3 separate regions of the Homo sapiens genome follow, and all the other regions are linked to region 2. Evidence: promoter capture Hi-C in human tissues and cell types (Jung and others, 2019). All regions are on one chromosome and are shown on one strand. The core of a region is centred on a gene start or on the middle of the fragment in contact, and the rest is flanking DNA. Distances in the headings are between cores, read along the strand shown.

Region 1 (2,700 bases), core at 201-2,700, 300 kb after region 2:
ACTAGAACACTGGTATATGGTATAGAATAGTACAGTGCAGTGTAGACTAGATTATTGTGAGCTTTGAAGTCAGATAGAACAGGGTCTGAATCCTGGCCCTACCTCTTACTAATCTTGGCCAAAGTATTCAACCTTTCTGAGCTCCAGCTCATCCATAAAAAGGAGAAAATAAGAATGCTTATTTAATATATTGTTATGGAGAGAAAAGCAATATGTAAAGCATTTGGTACTTAATAGCCAACCAATTGTTGTTACATCTTTCCCTCTTTTTCTTTTTCCCTTCCCTTTTTATTCCCATTTAGCCTTGCAATTCTATTGCCTTTCATTGTGTAATCTTTAAGAAGCTATACAATTTTTCTGAACTTCAATTTCCTCATTTAAAATAACAACAACAATAATGGCAATTATGATAGTGACATCTGCCATGCCTATTTCAGAGTCACTGAGAAGATCTAACGAAATAGTATATATTACAATATTCTGAAAGCTTAGAGTGCCTTAACAATGTAAAGACTTATCAGAATTAGTGGTACCTTTTACAGAGTGAAAATCCCTCTAGACCTTGAATGAAAACATGGGGGTAGGGTGGGAAGGAGGCAGGCTTCAAGGGCCGAATCTAGTTAAGGCTGTGAGTATATATTCAGCACTCACCATAATTAGACACATAATGGGACTTAAGTCACAGACAATGTCAATACCACATACAAGTAATCAACATGCATAGAAAAAATTTCCCTGTTGTGGTGCTTGCGTCTCCCTCTCTCTCAGCTCCCCCTGCTCAGGGCTAGACTGTATTATAAAGGCATCTTTGTTGGTAGTAGTTTCTTTTACTTTTTTATTTCCCCAAGTCTCAAAACACTCAAAAGGGAGCCAGGCAAACACAATGCAGCCAACTGCAATTGGTTCCCTTAAACTCTCCACCCAAAATGATCAAATTAATGGTTTTTCAAAGAACCGCTGGGAGACCAAAAGCAGCCCCCGTAATCAACACTCACAATTATCGAACCCAGCCCAGAGTCTCTGTTAAAGCTGCTACCAGACAAACACTTATTCAGATAATGAGCAAAGTTCTCCTCCTTGCAGGGAAAGCCATACACACATGTAATTTGAAATGGTAGCTCACGTCCTAAGTAAGTGTGAAACAGCTGTCACATGGGCTTGCATCCCACTGAACTTGCTGCACACAATGAAGCAGGTTGGGGGGAGGGTGGCCAAGGGGATTATCTTGTTTATAGGGCACTGAAGCCAAGGGCTGGATTTTCTTAACACTCTTGAGGACAGATGCAAGAATTTGCCCAACAATTATAATTATTAATAGTAGTTGAGGAGAAGAAAAAAGAGGGCTCATGGCAGAAAAATTCATCATCCCCAAACCTCCTCAAACTTAATTCCAGAATCCTTCCCCTTGCACTCCATACACACACACACACACACACACACACACACAGACACACCCCTTAAAGGTCATTAGCCTTTATAGGCATAAGTAATAAACACCTATTTTCTTTGGCAGAAATTACTCTTCATGTTACTAATGGCAGAAGGACTAATAGGTAAAAATCTATTATTTGCTATGTTTGAGGCTAAGAGAGATAGTTATTTTCCCATTTGTGTTATAAAACTGTTATACCTTTTACCAGTAAATAAGCACTCGAAGTTTATTAGTCCAATCTTTGGCTTCCTCCTTCATCTACACATAAATTGCAGTTCTAGTGAAACTCAATGATGGCCGCCTCTGGACTGCTGACAGAATTTCACAGGACCAGGCTGATGGCTGTGGCTTCCTTTGCCCTTTCTCCCAGCTTCCTCACACATCATCTTGTCTCTACGGCAGTTTACTGAGCAGTCAAAACGAGCCCACATCTAGGTGGGTGATTTCTGGAATAGCAGTAACCACCTCCCCTTCAACAAAGACTGGGAAGGCACCCAACAGAAAGAGACAAGCCCAGTGCTGGGAAGGATTCAGCAACATACCAAAAAGCCAAAAGCGATGACCTTCAGGACACATTCCAGGGAAAACACCATGGTGAAGGCGATATTCAGGTACTTCAGGGCCAGCTCATAGGTACAGGGAGCAGAATAATACTGCCAGGAAGAAAAAAGAAGAGAGAAAGAATCACAGCCTTAAGGTAAGAGGGGGAATACATGTCACTGAGGTTGGCCATCTCTCATTCCTGCCCTGTGGGACACTCTGGTGTGTGGTACAGGAGGAGAGATGGACTTCGAGTGCTGGAGAGGAGAACCACATATTCTACCCAACAAAACAAAGGAAAACACAGACCCACGCCCCACCAGACTTAATAGCAAAACAGCCAGTCTTCCTAGAGATGAGGGTGGGCAGGGAAGAAACATTTTCTAGAGTTAGTTACTGGAGTTAGTCATTTAATATTAAATAGGATGAGCCTCTCTGAATACTCCAAGGCTCCTTTAGACCCCGTGATGATGGATCTCTGTCTCCTGATTTTTCCACCCTTGTCTGAAGCTGCCTCCCATTGCCATCTCAGGTCTTGGGAGCCCCTGGATGGCTACTATAGTCTGCACTGCATTTTGCTCAGTGGACCCCCAAAGCCCCAGAGGTTGGGTTATTGAACAAAATAAGATCACAAAAGGATTCAATGATGGAAAAGTAGGTAAAGCAGTGATGGGCTGGGATGTTGGGGTGTCTTCCCACTTGCCCTGGGAGGGAACCATCGCTGGGGC
Region 2 (2,700 bases), core at 97-2,596:
ATGCAGCCATAAAAAGGAACAGGATCATATCCTTTGCAGGGACAGGGATGGAGCTGGAGGCATTATCCTCAGCAAACTGGCAAAGGAACAGAAAACCAAACACCGCATGTTCTCACTTATAAATGGGAGCTGAACAGTGAGAACACATGGACACAGGGAGGGGAACAACACATATTGGGGCCAGTTGGGGGAGTGCGGGGTGGAGAGAGCATCAGGAAAAATAGCTAATGCATGCCGGGCTTAATACCTAGGTGAAGGAAGGGTTGATAGGTGCAGCAAACCAGCATGGCACATGTTTACCTATGTAACAAACCTGCATATCCTGCACATGTATCCCGGAACTTAAAATTTTTAAAAATCGTCAATAATAACAATGAAAGCAGCTAACGTTTTTGGGTACTTGCTATGTTCCAAACACCGAACTAAGCTCCTTACATGCATTATCTCATTTAATACTCCCCAAACTTCCATGATGGCAATAGTATCCTGGTCCCTGTTTTGCAGATGAGACACTAAGGCACACAGAGGTTAAATAACTTGCCCAAGATCACACAGCTAGTAAGTAGTAAGATTCAAACCCAGACCCAGACCGTGCTGTCAATCAGTATACTTTGTGACCACCTAGTGACATCACAGGAACCACACTTCCATCACCTATTTTAATGCCCTGAATGTTCATCCTAATAAATGCACATTAGACTTGAGTGGGTAAAAATTCTGAATGTACTGAGTCTTCTACCTTGGGCCAATCCTTCTCTTCAAAATGAACCTGCATGGGAATCAATGCTGAAAGTGGAAAGAGACCCCAGACAGGCCTGGCATCTGTATGCATAAGACAGAAAACCATCTCCCTGCACCCCTACTCCCAGTTAAAAGGCTGTGGGCATCTTTGAGCCAATGAATGGGCTGCTACAAAGAATTCTGGGAATCCCAACCCCTCACAGTTCTGCAACTCACAGTCCTGCAAAAGGTGGGTACTAGAATAGGGAGGTGGGCATATAGGCCAAATACTCTGTTCTGCCTTCCAGGAGGGAAAAAGCATGCTACCCAGGAAGCTCACAAGTGACATGTGGCCCATGGGCATACCAGGGCTAAAGTGAAGGATGGACTGCTCTGTGGAAGGAAGGAGTGAAAGTGAACAAGAGGCATAGGGCCACCTGCAGGAAGACTGAGAGGAGGGAAGGAGGAAGGCTGGCTTTGGCAGGGAGGGGAGGCAGGAGCAGAGGGAGCCAGAGGATCGGTTCAGGCAGTGAGAGAGGGCAGCCCCACTCTATTTCCCAGGCTGCTCTCTGGATGCAGGCAGGAAGGTTGAGTGTATTACACTGGCCCCACCTCCAGAGGCTCTCTCTGCAGCCGCTGGACTGGACACAAAGCGTGAGAGACAGAGACACCATCTCTGCTGATTTGTACCTAACTGGTTCCTGTTGCTGAGAGCCCACGTGTCACAGAAGCCAGGGCAGAGGCCCCACACTGCTGTCTGCATTTCCCAGGTAAGCAACCGTCTGTGTGTGAGCCAGGAGTGGAGAGCAAGGCCTGAAGGCGGTGAGCAGAGAAGAAAGTAGGAGGCGGCTGCCTAGGATGGACTTCAGTACAATCTGGAAAGAATGAAGGAAAGAAGAGGGGTATGGGCTGGGGTTGCAACAAGCCCTTAGGGTAGGCTTCTGCAGAGTGTTGATGGATGTATGAGGTTGGGGAGTCAAAGGCTGCATTTGGTCCACTCTTGGCTGGCAAGTGCAGAGGAAGTTCCAGCAAAGGACTGCTCTGACAGCCTCTGGGGACTAGCACATCTGGGGAGCAGAGAGGCCCGCCATACCATGGCATCAGTGTTCCTCTTTCAGACCAGGTATATTTGTGCAGACTTTGCCAGAAAATCCCTCCCTGTGCCCCTGCCTGCCTCCAGGTCTTCCTGGTGGTCGAGAGCATGCGTGTGGCAGCGACAGGAGGAAGAAAGCAGGACATATTCACTGGGGATATGGCTTCAGATGGAGGAGGGATACCTCATCTGAAAAGAGAGTCTCCTGACGGGCTCTGGAGAGGAGATTGGTTAGCTAGTGGAGGGCTGTGTGCCACCCTAAGGAGGCTCCCCTGTGGCCCAGAGGAAAAGAATGACACACAGACTGTGGAAAATGGGGTATTTGTGCTGGAGGTGGGGTGGGGAGCGGGTAAAGTCAGTGATCTGTGAACAGTGCCACAGAAACAGGCAGTATGTTGTCGTAAAGAGGGAAAGAGACCTAAGACATGTGTTTCATACAAATCCAGCATCCCTTTGCTGTCCCTGCTGGGGGACCTACAGCCCCGGATCAAGCCTGCTGGTCTGAGCAAGTTCTATGAGGTTGGCTAGTGGTATGTCCCCTCTATGAACTACACATTCACTCCCTAAGATCCACTATGCTGAAAATATGTCAGATCTGGGCTCCTGTCAAAAGGCATGCCAGCTACCCTCTGCCATGTGATGGGTGAGGGAAGCAGTGAGAGAAGAGGAGTGGTCCCTGGGCTTTAGGGCACAAAGAGACGTGAGATGCTGAATTCCAGTCACAACTGCAATGTGTCCTCCCTCCATCCATGGCTTCTGTATCCAGAGCAGAAAGTGAGGATTCCTCCATACTGCTCCCTCTTCATACACACAGGGTAACTGGGCTCATGATCAGGCAGAAACCAGGGAAGAACAGTTTAATGAGATGGGGATAGGGTTAACTGTAC
Region 3 (2,700 bases), core at 105-2,604, 320 kb after region 2:
CTTAGGGCAAAGGCAGACTTTAATCCTTCTTTCCAAGAAGACGGAAGAGGAGCTGGAAGTCCCTCTTTTGGAGCCAGAGCTGCCTTTCCTTTCATTGCACCATGAGAATCCAGACAGGGCCCAGATGCTTGAGAAAATACCCCATGCTTCTGTAAAATTTCCTCAAGAACAGTCCAGCCACATGTGACAGAAAGCTTTCTTTTTGTGGGGGACAAAGGTGACTGCACACAATGGAATTAACATGTGCACAAGGGGACAAGGGACACTGGAATTACCTTGATCACCAGCCCATTTTAGAGTCACAAACTATGCTCAATGTGGTTTTCTTTTGAAGGGTCTCTCATGGCTGAGGAAGCAGTGGACACAGTCCAGTTCCAGGGTCTGGGAGATCCTACACTCCTAGCACAGCTGGGAGTGTATCTTGTACCTCTCCTTAAGAGAGAGAGAGCCCTCCACTATCCCCACCCCCACCAGGCCACTTGAGAAACATCTGGTAATTTTTATCCCACCTGTTTTTCTGCCAGAAAGGATAAGAGACAGCAGCTGACAGTGCTTGAAGAGAAGCTTGGGGAGAAGCACTGTCAGCTTCCCTGTGTTTCTAAACATTTAGAAGGGCAAACCCTTCCAAGGGTGATCTCTTTCTAAACACTTGGAAGGGCAAACCCTTGGAGGGAAAACCACTCAGAAGGGTAAACGTATGAAGATACTGTGTTCCTTTTGCAGCTGCCATCAATGACAGAAGCTCCTGAAAGCTCTCCTGCCTCACTACACAGTGTAGCTAGCCTTGCTTAGCCTAAAGATGAGGCTTCCACTTGTACTCAGAGAGACTTGAGGGATGGCTCTGAGAATTCTGTTGTGCCTCCTGGAAGAGGCTGAAGCTGCTCAGGGTGAACAAGGTACAGACAGAGCCCTGAGGCTGTCATTCATCCTACTGGGACACTCTATACACCGGGTTAGGAAAAAGGCCCTGAAAGCATCCCATTTCCTAGTTAATCCCAGGAGGGCTAGAAGAGCCCTTTCCTTGGCTAGATTCCACAGGAAATGTCAGAATGTGATTGAAAACTGGCTAGAGCTGGATCCATGTGCAGGGGGGAAAAAAATCCCACAAATATTATGAACATGATTTTGTTGCCTGAATGGTTTAAGACTGTTTTCCTAGGTATGTTATCAAGGAAAGTTTGGAAAGCCTTTCCTTTTGGAGATTACACATATTATTAGGTTTGTGCAAAAGCATGGTTCTGGCATCCCTGGAAGAGCTCTCGTTTACACCTGCTATGAATAGAAAACCTCACCATGCCTAGGATTCCGTGATCCTCAACTTTGCTCTACCCTCTGCATCTTTCTTTCAAGCTGCTTCCTTGATTGACACACTCAAGAAAGAAAGGGCCCATAAGCTGTTCCTGGGTCCATTGCTGAATGCATGGAAACACTGTCCACACTGTGAGTGCCTGCCCATGCTTACTCATCTCTAGGAAAGGAATTCCTAGGGCCTCTGACTTCTCCCTCCTGACGCTCCCTACTCCTGCTTCCCCCGTTCTGCCACTCAGGTCACGTGAGCTGGAGCTGCAAGGCGCTCAGGAGCTCTGCTGGGGGCGACTGGGGAGCAGATTTCCAGCGGGGGCATTCTTTGGCATCACCCTGCATGTTGCATTTCTGGAAAGGGCTTCAAATCAACTGGAGTCTCCAGGAAGAGGGGAAGGAAGGGAATCAAATATGAAAAGAGTCACTTACGCCAGAGCAAAGGCCACCAATGCGCCAACGACCACCACAAAGTCCAGGATGTTCCACAAGTCTCGGAAGTAGGACCCATCCTGCAGGATCAAGCCTTGGTCTATCATCTGCAGAAGGATATGAACAGCCACAGTGAGCCAAGAAAGTGTGGGCAACACTTGACCTGAGCTCTGTTCATCATGGCAGTGCCCCCACTGCCACTGTCTCCACAACCAACCCTATGCTAGGACCTGGAGAATGAGAGGTTAGGTCCAGCAGGCTTTCTCCACATAACTGAGTCCTGAGGCCCCCATCTCATAGTCACCCAGGGTTCACTAGACTCCTTGGTTGTCACAGAACCCTGACACATTCCTCCTTTCATTTATGGCTCAGAGCACTGGGCATTGCCACATATGCACAGATGGGTAAAATCCTGGATGGATGAGGCTGGGAACAAGACAGACTATGGAGTGTTGTGGTGGCTGGGACTAGATGAAGCCCAGGAAGACTCATCTCTACCTAGCCCTTTGCCTTGGCACACACCCAGGCTCAGCCAAGACAAGCACTGGGGAGGGGAGTGCAGGCCCCAACCCTGTCTGCACATCTGTTGCCTGCCTCCTACTTGGGCCATGTCCACAGGCCTGCAGCAGTACAAACACATCCACGCAGCCGTGTCTTGCTGAGACAGATTTCTTCAGGATTCTGAGGCCAGAGAAGGGGCGGCAGAAGCTCTACTGAGGGCTGCCATTGGCTGGTAGGTGGTAACACTGAGGAAGGGCTCTAGCCTAAGGAGCAGACAGGTGACCCATCTAAACCCAAGAGCCCAGGTTTTCTCTAGAAGTTTTTACCTTTATAACCATCTCAAAGGTGAACACGCCCGTGAACACATAGTCAAAATACCTCAGGACCTGAAAGACACATATGGTGGAAGGAAATGACCATGTGTGGCCAACAGGCTACTACATGAGCTCCCACCTGCCAGGACACATG

What was found. Contacts are between HindIII fragments. The study calls those that stand out against the background at their distance.
Region 1: a fragment that was not itself captured here is called in contact with the fragment with the promoter of ZNF648 in region 2 in 1 of the 25 tissues and cell types used here (stomach).
Region 3: a contact is called between a fragment that was not itself captured here and the fragment with the promoter of ZNF648 in region 2, in 1 of the 25 tissues and cell types used here (H1 embryonic stem cells).

Annotation. Positions count from the first base shown.
Region 1 is chr1:181,758,143-181,760,842 of GRCh38, reverse strand. It overlaps CACNA1E (calcium voltage-gated channel subunit alpha1 E), which reads right to left. Exons shown (of 48, transcript NM_001205293.3): 32 at 1,975-2,085. Among named protein-coding and RNA genes, the nearest start is that of CACNA1E, 280 kb to the right of the region's middle. The HindIII fragment of the contact is 4,258 bases long and covers 1-2,700 here.
Region 2 is chr1:182,060,358-182,063,057 of GRCh38, reverse strand. It overlaps ZNF648 (zinc finger protein 648), which reads left to right and starts at 1,346. Exons shown (of 2, transcript NM_001009992.1): 1 at 1,346-1,490. The HindIII fragment of the contact is 24,066 bases long and covers 1-2,700 here.
Region 3 is chr1:181,738,285-181,740,984 of GRCh38, reverse strand. CACNA1E (calcium voltage-gated channel subunit alpha1 E) reads right to left here. Exons shown (of 48, transcript NM_001205293.3): 24 at 2,559-2,618; 25 at 1,732-1,838. Among named protein-coding and RNA genes, the nearest start is that of CACNA1E, 260 kb to the right of the region's middle. The HindIII fragment of the contact is 3,560 bases long and covers 1-2,700 here.